2 separate regions of the Homo sapiens genome follow, and region 1 is linked to region 2. The links are contacts of gene promoters, found by promoter capture Hi-C in blood cells and fetal thymus (Javierre and others, 2016). All regions are on one chromosome and are shown on one strand. Each heading gives the region's core, a stretch centred on a gene start or on the middle of the fragment in contact. The rest is flanking DNA. Distances are from core to core; before and after follow the strand shown.

Evidence for each region. The method cuts DNA at HindIII sites, captures the fragments that hold promoters and counts their contacts. A CHiCAGO score of 5 or more calls a contact.
Region 1: the fragment with the promoter of PRSS8 here is called in contact with a fragment that was not itself captured in region 2 in 2 of 17 cell types (neutrophils and monocytes); the score reaches 6.0 in neutrophils.

Annotation. Positions count from the first base shown.
Region 1 is chr16:31,133,995-31,138,926 of GRCh38, reverse strand. PRSS8 (serine protease 8) reads left to right here and starts at 3,200. Exons shown (of 6, transcript NM_002773.5): 1 at 3,200-3,513; 2 at 3,756-3,773. The coding sequence starts at 3,429. PRSS36 (serine protease 36) reads left to right here. Exons shown (of 15, transcript NM_173502.5): 15 at 1. RefSeq lists enhancers at 1-451, 4,139-4,932. The HindIII fragment of the contact is 17,481 bases long and covers 1-4,932 here.
Region 2 is chr16:31,314,574-31,319,293 of GRCh38, reverse strand. The region is part of intron 14 of ITGAM (integrin subunit alpha M); the gene reads right to left. Among named protein-coding and RNA genes, the nearest start is that of ITGAX, 38 kb to the left of the region's middle. The HindIII fragment of the contact is 2,960 bases long and covers 963-3,922 here.

The DNA of each region.
Region 1 (4,932 bases), core at 1,951-4,450, 180 kb after region 2:
GGTACCTGTGTGGCCTTGTGGCATCGCCGTGGGCAGGCTGAGGGGCTGGGCATCAGAGGCTAAGCGGGAAGCCCAAGGGGGAGGTCCCCTCCCTCCTCCCTCCTCCGGCCTCTGAGTCAGGCCTTGGGCTCTCAGGAAATGTACCCTGATAACCTGGCAGCGATTCCTTCATTCCTGTCCCAGGGCAGGGAAGTCGGGTGGCCAGCTGGCTGTGTGTCACCTGCCCAGTGGAGTCAGCACCCTCGGCACGTGCTGGACATCTCATCCCCTGCTCAGACCCGCTGCCCTCGCTGCCCGCCATAGACACACCTCAATGCACAATGCTCCGATGTATCCCCTGCACACACACAACACTTGGGCCCTTCAAGGGTCTGCCACTTTCACATTCTGCCCAGAACTTGGGTCCCTTATATGTGAACCTCACTCCCTTACCCACTGCTTACCTGCACCTCCCTGCATTCATTCAACCCGTGTTCCCTGGTGGCTACTAAGTCGTGGCACAATTGGGGTCTGATATATAAGCCCACAAAGTCCTCCCAATCTAGTGGGGACACATGTGGACATCCCTGGCTGGGATTGGGAAGATGTCATAGCAGTGATGTTTGAGCACAGAAAAAGGGAAGGTGGTTTCCAGCCAATGAATCTACAATTAAAAAGTAACGCAAAACCAGAGACGAGGTGCGGCAGCTCATGCCTGTAATCCCAGCACTTTGGGAGGATCGCTTGAGGCCAGGCATTCCAGACCAGCCCGGGCAACAAAGCAAGACCCCCATCTCCACTTTTTTTTTTTTGAGACAGAGTCTCATACTGATGCTCAGGCTGGAGTGCAGTGGTGCAATCTCGGCTCACTGCAACCTCCACCTCCTGGGTTCAAGCGATCCTCCTGCCTCAGACTCAAGTAACTAGGATTGCAGACTCAAGACACCATGCCGGACTAATTTTTGTATTTTTATTTAACTTATTTATTTTTAATTTTTTGAGACAGAGTTTTGCTATTGTCGCCCACACTGGAGTTCAATGGCGCAATCTCGGCTCACTACAACCTTCACCTCCCAGGTTCAAGCAATTCTCCTGCCTCAGCCTCCTGAGAAGCTGGGATTACAGGTGCCCACCACCATGCCCAACTAATTTTTGTATTTTTAGTAGAGGTGGGGTGTCTCTATGTTGGCCAGGCTGGTCTTGAACTCCTGACCTCAGATGATCCGCCCACCTCAGCCTCCCAAAGTGCTGGGATTTACAGGCGTGAGCCACTGCATCTGGCCTATTTATTTTATTTATTTATTTATTTTGAGATGGAGTCTCCCTCTGTTGCCCAGGCTGGAGTGCAGTGGCACAATCTTGGCTTCCCAGGTTCAAGCAATTCTCCTGCCTCAGCCTCCCGAGTAGCTAAGATTACAGGTATGCGCCACCACGCCTGGCTAATTTTCTTTGTATTTTTTAGGAGAGACGGGGTTTTACCATGTTGGCCAAGCTGGTCTCAAACTCCTGATCTTGAGAATGATCCTCCCACCTTGGCCTCACAAAGTGCTGGGATTATAGGTGTGAGCCACCACATCCAAGCTCCACAATTTTTTTTGTTTGTTTGTTTTTTGAGACGGAGTCTCGCTCTGTCGCTCAGGCTGGAGTGCAATGGCGCAATATCTCGGCTCACTGCAACCTCCACCTCCTGGGTTCAAGCGATTCTCCTGCCTCAGCCTCCTGAGTAGCTGGAATTACAGGTGCGTGCTACCACGCCTGGCTAATTTTTGTATTTTTAGTAGAAATGGGGTTTCACCATGTTGTTCAGGATGGTCTCAAACTCCTGACCTCGTGATTCGTGTGCCTTGGCCTCCCAAAGTGCCGAGATTAGAGGCGTGAGCCACCACACCCAGCCTCAACAGGTGTTTTGAACGGCCAGAGTGGCCCTCAAGGAGGATACATGCCTCACTCCCACCGCAGCCACACGGCAAGCCTTCTTTCCCTGAGCCTCTGCCCTCTGCACCCCATCCCCCCATCTTCGCCTTACCACCTTTTATAATCCCTTTCGGTCTCAGTTTCCAAGGCAATTCCTCGAGGACCCTTTCACAATGCCAGCCTTTGCCAGGCTGTGGTGTGCTCACGCCATTCTTTTTCATCACTATTCCTAGCTTGAAATTATTGTGTAATTGCAATTTTTTTTTTTAAGACAGGGTCTCCCTCTGTTGCCCAGGCTGGAGTGCAGTGGCGTGATCATAGCTCAATGCTTCGTTGAACTCCTGGGCTCAAGCAATCCTCCTGCCTCAGCCTCCCAAATAGCTGGAACCATAGGCATGCGCCACAATGCCTGCCTAATTTTTATATTTCTTTGTAGAGATGAGGCCTCGCTATATTCCCCAGGCTGGTCTGGAACTCCTGGCTTCAAGTGATGCTCCAGCCTCAGCCTCCCAAAGCCGACTAGCCACCTTGCCAGCCTGTTTGTGATTATTTGATTGAAGTGTGTCACCCCTACTTCACCATGAGCTCAGGGCTCAAGGGGGACGGGGCTGGTGCCTGTTTTGTCCTGGACACCTGGGAACATCATAGGCACTTAGGAAATGTCTGTGGGATGATTGGTGCTGCTCCACAAGCTCGCCACCACCCATGAGGTGCAGGCATCGCAGAAAGGGCCTGGCAGGGGACAGACCATAGTGTCTTAAGCTCCCATAACCAGCCTAAGGAGGGAGGGAAGAAGGGAGGAGTGGCTGTGGCTCCAGATAATAAAAGCTGGGGCCAGGCCCTGGGGGGCATAACTGGCCTGAGATAACCTGAAAGACCTGAGGCGGAGGAGAGTCGTCACATTCCAGGGAGACTGCACACACACACAAACCACATGCACGTGCATGCACGCACACTCAGACACACACACTACACACACAGGGACACACACAGCCTACACATGTGCACATACAGCCTGTACATGCACACACACACACATACCACACCACATAAGAGGACACACACAGCCTACACAGGCATACACACACACCACATACACACTACACACCGGGACACACACACAAAAGGCCTATGCATGTGCACACACATACACACGGACACATACATGCACACACACGGGCCTGCAGCTCTGAAAGGACTCATGACTTTGGTGGCAAGAGGAGCTGGCGGAGCCCAGCCAGTGGGCGGGGCCAGGGGAGGGGCGGGCAGGTAGGTGCAGCCACTCCTGGGAGGACCCTGCGTGGCCAGACGGTGCTGGTGACTCGTCCACACTGCTCGCTTCGGATACTCCAGGCGTCTCCCGTTGCGGCCGCTCCCTGCCTTAGAGGCCAGCCTTGGACACTTGCTGCCCCTTTCCAGCCCGGATTCTGGGATCCTTCCCTCTGAGCCAACATCTGGGTCCTGCCTTCGACACCACCCCAAGGCTTCCTACCTTGCGTGCCTGGAGTCTGCCCCAGGGGCCCTTGTCCTGGGCCATGGCCCAGAAGGGGGTCCTGGGGCCTGGGCAGCTGGGGGCTGTGGCCATTCTGCTCTATCTTGGATTACTCCGGTCGGGGACAGGTAAGTGAGGACGTGGGGGCAGGGTGGGGACAATGCACTGGAGGGAGCCGGCGTGATCATTTTCTGGGGTGTGCCCTTGTCTGGGGCCCAAGAAAACCCCCGGCCTCCCTAGCTCTTGGCCTCTCTTTCCCACCTTGGCTCTGTCAGGGAAGGGGCCAGCCCTCTGGAGCAGTGGTGGGTACTAAGGGGTCAGGGAACCCGAGTCTTCCCTACTCACCCCTCCTCTTTCTCTTTCTTTCTAGGAGCGGAAGGGGCAGAAGGTGAGACTTTCCTCGGAGAGGGAGGAGGGGAGGGGGAGGTGACTTGGATCGGATTCCCCTGGGGTTTAACCAGTGCCTGGCCTTCAGCTGGGCTGCCTTCCAACTAGATTCTCTTAGGGCTCCCAGAGTGGGGGGTTTTAGCCCTCACCTTATGGGCAGAGAAGCAGGGACTTGCCCAGGGCACACTGCCAGTGAAGGTGCAGCTGGGATTCAGATCCACGTCTGACTCCCAAAGTGGGGCAATCGAGGTGGTTTTTTTGGTTTGGTTTTTGTCTTTTGAAACAGGGTCTGGGTCTGTCGTCACCCAGGCTGGAGTGCAGTGGCCCGATCGCAGCTCACTGCAGTCTCAGTGATCCAGCCTCCCGGGCTCACGTGATCCTCCCACCTCCCCACCTCAGCCTCCCTAGTGGCTGGGACTACAGGTGCATGCCATCACACCCAGCTAGTTGTGTTTTGTTTTTGTTTTTGTTTTTGTTTGGTAGAGATGTGGGTCTCACTATGTTGGCCGGGCAGGTCTTGAACTCCTGGGCTCAAGCGATCCTCCTGCCTTGGCCTCTCAAAGTGCTGGGATTACAGGTGTGAGCCACCGTTCCCATCCTGGAGGTGGTTTTGAGGGAACCAAACCAAGGGTCTCCTTTCTTGGAAGGCACCCAACCCAGCTCTGAGTCAGACCGGCTTTCAATCCTGGCTTCCCCATGCACTGGCTGTGTGTCATTGGCCAAGTCCCCCCACTTCTCTAAGCCTTAGACTCCTCACCTCTAAAATGAAGCTGGTCATGTCCGTCTCCTGGGGCTGTGGAGAGGATGCAGGGAGATGAGGAAGCGAAAGCCCCTCCAGGGCCTGGCACAGCCGCTAGGCTCTCTAAATAGTGGCTATTGTCATGATGATAAGGGAGAGAAAGATCTGGTCTGCAATTTTCTCTGCTCCTAGATGACTTTGTGAAGAGCAGTTGGGCTCCACTCCAAAGTGGCCTCAATGGGGGTGGGGCTGGGGCTGTCCTGGAAACTAGACATTCACATCACAGGAGCCCAGTTCTGCTGTTGGTTTGTTGAATATATGTCCACGACGCCACAGGCACTGCAGACATGAGAATCTGCCCCTAGGGAATGCCCAGATTGGTGTGGTGGAAACAGACACAGTTGTGGACTCCGGAACAATT
Region 2 (4,720 bases), core at 1,193-3,692:
AAACTTCAAAATCCTACTTTCAATAGCAAATAGAACAACTAGACAAAAAAAAAACCCAAGGGAGAATGGACCAAATGGACTTAACAGACATATACAAAATACACAAGCCAACTACTGCAGAATATACATTCTTCTCAAGTGCACATGGACCATTCCCCAGGACAGACCACATGTTAGGTCACAAAACAAGTCTTAACAAATTTGAAATGATTTAAATTATATCAAGAATCTTTTCCAACCACAATGGAATGAAACTAAAAACAATACCAGAAGAAAAACTGGAAAAAAACATACATATGTAAAAATTAAACAATACACCATTGAACAACTAATGGATAAAAAAATAAATTAGAAAATAACATGAGATAAATGAAAACAAAAACACAATATACCAAACTTAATGGGAGGCAGCAAAAGCAGTACTAAAGGAAAGTTCGGGATAAACACCTAATTTTAAAACAAAAAGACAAATTTCAATTACAAAACCTAACTTTACACCTCAAGAAATGAGAAATAAAAGAACAAACTAAACCTAAAGTTAGTAGAAGGAAGAAAATAATAAAGATTACAGAAAAATAAATCAAATAGAGAATAGAAAAAAATCAATGAAATTAAGTTGATTTTTCAAAAAGATAGAATTGACAAGCTTTGGCCAGGTGCAGTGGCTCACGCCTGCAATCCCAGCACTTTGGGATGTCGAGGCAAGTGGATCACCTGAGATGAGGAGTTCAAAACCAGCCTGGCCATCATGGTGAAACCCTGTCTCTACTAAAAATACGAAAATCAGCCAGGTGTGGTGGCACGTGCTTGTAATGCCAGCTACTCAGGAGCCTGAGGCAGGAGAATCACTTGAACCTGGGAGGTGGAGAATGCAGTGAGCTGTGATCATGCCACTGCACTCCAGCCTGGGCAACAGAGTGAGACTCCATCTCAAAAAAAAAAAAAAAAAGAACTGACAAGCTTTTAGGTAGACCAAGGAAAAAGGGAGAAAAAACAGAAACAACAGATAAGTAAAATTATAAATGAAAGAACATACAACTGATGCCATAGCAATAAAAAGGATCATTAAGAGACTACTATGAACAATTATATGTTAACAAACTTGATAACCTTGAAGGAATGGATAAATTCCTAGAAATATACAACCTACCAAGCCTGAATCATAAGGCAATAGAAAGTTTAAACAGATCTATAATGAGTAAGGAAATTGAATCAGTAATCAAAGACCTCCTAACAAAGAAAAGCCCAGGACCTGGTGGCTTCTCAGGCAAATTCTACCAACCAAACATTTAAATAAGAATTAATATGAATTCTTCTCAAACTCATCCAAAAAACTGAAGAGGAGGGAATACTTCCAAACTTATTGTATGAGGCAAGCACTATCCTGACACTAAATCCCAACAAACACACCATGAGAAAAGATCACTACATGCCAATTTCCCTATTGAACATAGATCCAAAATCCTAAATAAAATACTAGCAAACTGAATTCAATAGCACAAAAGGGTCATACGCCATGACCATGTGGGCTTTATTCCTGGCATGCAAGGATGGCTCAACATATGCAAATCAATAAATGTGATGCACCACATTAACAGAATAAGGAATAAAAATAACATGATCTTATCAATAAGAAAAGAAAGCATTTAATAAAACTAAACATCTGTCTTAGCTTATTTGGTATAACAAATAACATAGACTGGATGGGTTATAAGCAATAGAAATTTATTTCTCATAGTTCTGAAGACTTGTGACATCCAAAATCAAGGTGCAAGCAGATTCAATATCTGGTGAGAGCCTATTTTCTGGTTCATAGGCAACCATCATTTTGCTTTTGTCTAAGGGCACTAATCCTATTAATGATGGCCACACTCTCATGACCTAAACACCTTCCAAAGGTCCCATCTACAAATACCATCACACAAGGAATTAGGCTTCAACATATGAATCTGGGGAGGACACAAACATTCAGGCCACAGGAATAGCCACTCATGATTAAAAACCCTCAACAAACTAGAAATACAGGGAAATTACATCAACATGATAAAGAACATTAAAAAAAGTGTCTAGTTAACATCATACCCAGTGGTGAAAATTTGATTTTACCACTAAAATTAGGAACAAGGCAAGGATGCCCACACTCACCACTTCTATTTCAACACAGTACTGAAAGTCCTAGCCAGAGCAATTGGGCAAGAAAAAGATAAGAAATGCATTCAAGTTAGAAATAAAGAAAAAAAAATTGTCCCTGTTTGCAATTGACATGATCTTATATATAAGAAACTTGTTATAAATACTCTACGAAAAAGTTATCAAATTTAATAAACAAATTTAGTAAAGTCATGGAATACAAAATGAACATACAAAAATTATTTGTTTCTATACACTAACAACAAACTATCTGAAAAAGAAATTAATCCTATTTACAATGGCATCAAAAAATAAAATGCTTACAAGTTAATTTAACCAAGAAGGTGAAAAATATGCACACTAAAACTATAAAACATTGACGAAAGAAAGTTAAGACAAAAATCAATGGAAAGATATCCCATATTATGGATTGAAAGAATATTTTTAAAGGTCCATACTATTCAAAGTGATCGATAGAGTCAATGTAATTCCTACCAAAATCCCAATGGCATTTCTTACAGAAATAGAAAAAACAATACTAAAATTAATATGAAGTCACAAAAGACCTCAAATATCCAAGACAATCTTGAGCATAAACAACAAAGGTAGAGGTATCACACTACCTGACATCAAAATACACCACAAAGGTATACTCAGCAAAACAGCATGACACTGACATAAAAACAGAGACATTGACCAATGGAACAGAATACAGAGCTCAGAAATGAACCCATGCATTTACAATCAACTAATTTTCTTTTCTTTTTTTTTTTTTTCCAGACGGAGTCTTGCTCTGTTACCCAGGCTGGAGTGCAGTGGCATGATGTAGGCTCACTGCAACCTCTTCCTCCCAGGTTCCCCCATTCTCCTGCCTCAGCCTCCCGAGTAGCTGGAACTACAGGTGCCCACCACCATGCCTGGCTAATTTTTTTTTTTTTTTTTTTTTTTTTTTTTTTTTTTTTTGAGACGGAGTCTCGCTCTGTCGCCCAGGCCGGACTGCGGACTGCAGTGGCGCAATCTCGACTCACTGCAAGCTCTGCTTCCCGGGTTCACGCCATTCTCCTGCCTCAGCCTCCCGAGTAGCTGGGACTACAGGCGCCCGCCACCGCGCCCGGCTAATTTTTTGTATTTTTAGTAGAGACGGGGTTTCACCTTGTTAGCCATGACGGTCTCGATTTCCTGACCTCATGATCCACCCGCCTCAGCCTTCCAAAGTGCTGAGATTACAGGCATGAGCCACCGCGCCCGGCCAACAATCAACTAATTTTCAACAAAGGTGCCAAGGGCATACAATGGGGAAAGGACAGTCTTTTTAACAAATGGTGTTAAGAACACTGGATATCCACAGGCAAAAGAATGAAACTGAGCCTTTATCTCAAACCAAATACAAAAATCAAAAGTGCTGGGCCGGGTGCAGTGGCTCACGCCTGTAATCCCAGCACTTTAGGAGACTGAGGCGGGTGGATTACCTTAGATCAGGAGTTCAAGACCAGCCTGGCCAACATGGTGAAACCCCGTCTCTATTAAATATACAAAAAAGTAGCCAGGCATGGTGGCGGAGGCCTGTAATCCCAGCTACTTGGGAGGCTGAGGCAGGAGAATCGCTGGGACCCGGGAGGTGGAGGTTGCAGTGAGCTGAGATCGTGCCACTGCACTCCAGCCTGGGCAATAGAGAGAGACTCCATCTAAAATAAAATTAAATTAAAAAATAAAAAAATTAAAAAGTGAGTTAAAGGCTTAAATGTAAGATCTAACACTATAAACTATTAGAAGGAAACGTAGAGGGAAAGCTTCATGACATTGGTCTGGGCAATGATTTTTTTATATGATCCTGAAAGCACAAGCAACAAAAACAAAAACAGACAAATGGAATTGCATCAAACTAAAAAGCTTCTGCACAATAAAGGAATAATTAACAGAGTGAAGAGACAACCTACAGACTGGGGGAAAATATTTGCAAACCACACAACTGATAAATGGTTAATATCCATAACACATAAAGAACTCAATAGTAAGAAAATAAATAACCCAATTTAAAAATGGGCAAAGAGGGCCGGGTTCGGTGACTCACACCTGTAATCCCAGCACTTTGGGAGGCTGAGGCAGGTGAATCACTTGAGATCAGGAGTTTGAGACCAGCCTGGCCAACATGGTGAAATGCCATCTCTACTAAAAATACAAAAATTAGCTGGGTGTGGTGGTGGGCACCTGTAATCCCAGCTACTCAGGAGGCTGAGGCAGGAGAATCACCTGAACCTGGAGGCAGAGGTTGCAGTTCACGCTACTGTACTCCAGCCTGGGTGACAGACTGAGACTCCATCTCAAAAAAAAAAAAAAAAAAACCCTGCCTCCTACTACCACAGGAGGAACAGCCTAACCGTTTGCTGTAAAAGTTGGCTGTAGCTGATCTTGTGAAAACTACTTTAAATTTCATATGCAGCCAAAAAAGAGCCCATATAGCCAAGACAATCCTAAGCAAAACAACAAAGCTGGAAGCATCACACTACCTGACTTCAAACTATACTACAAGGCTACAGTAACCAAAACAGCATGGTACTGATACCAAAACAGATATATAGACAAATGAAAC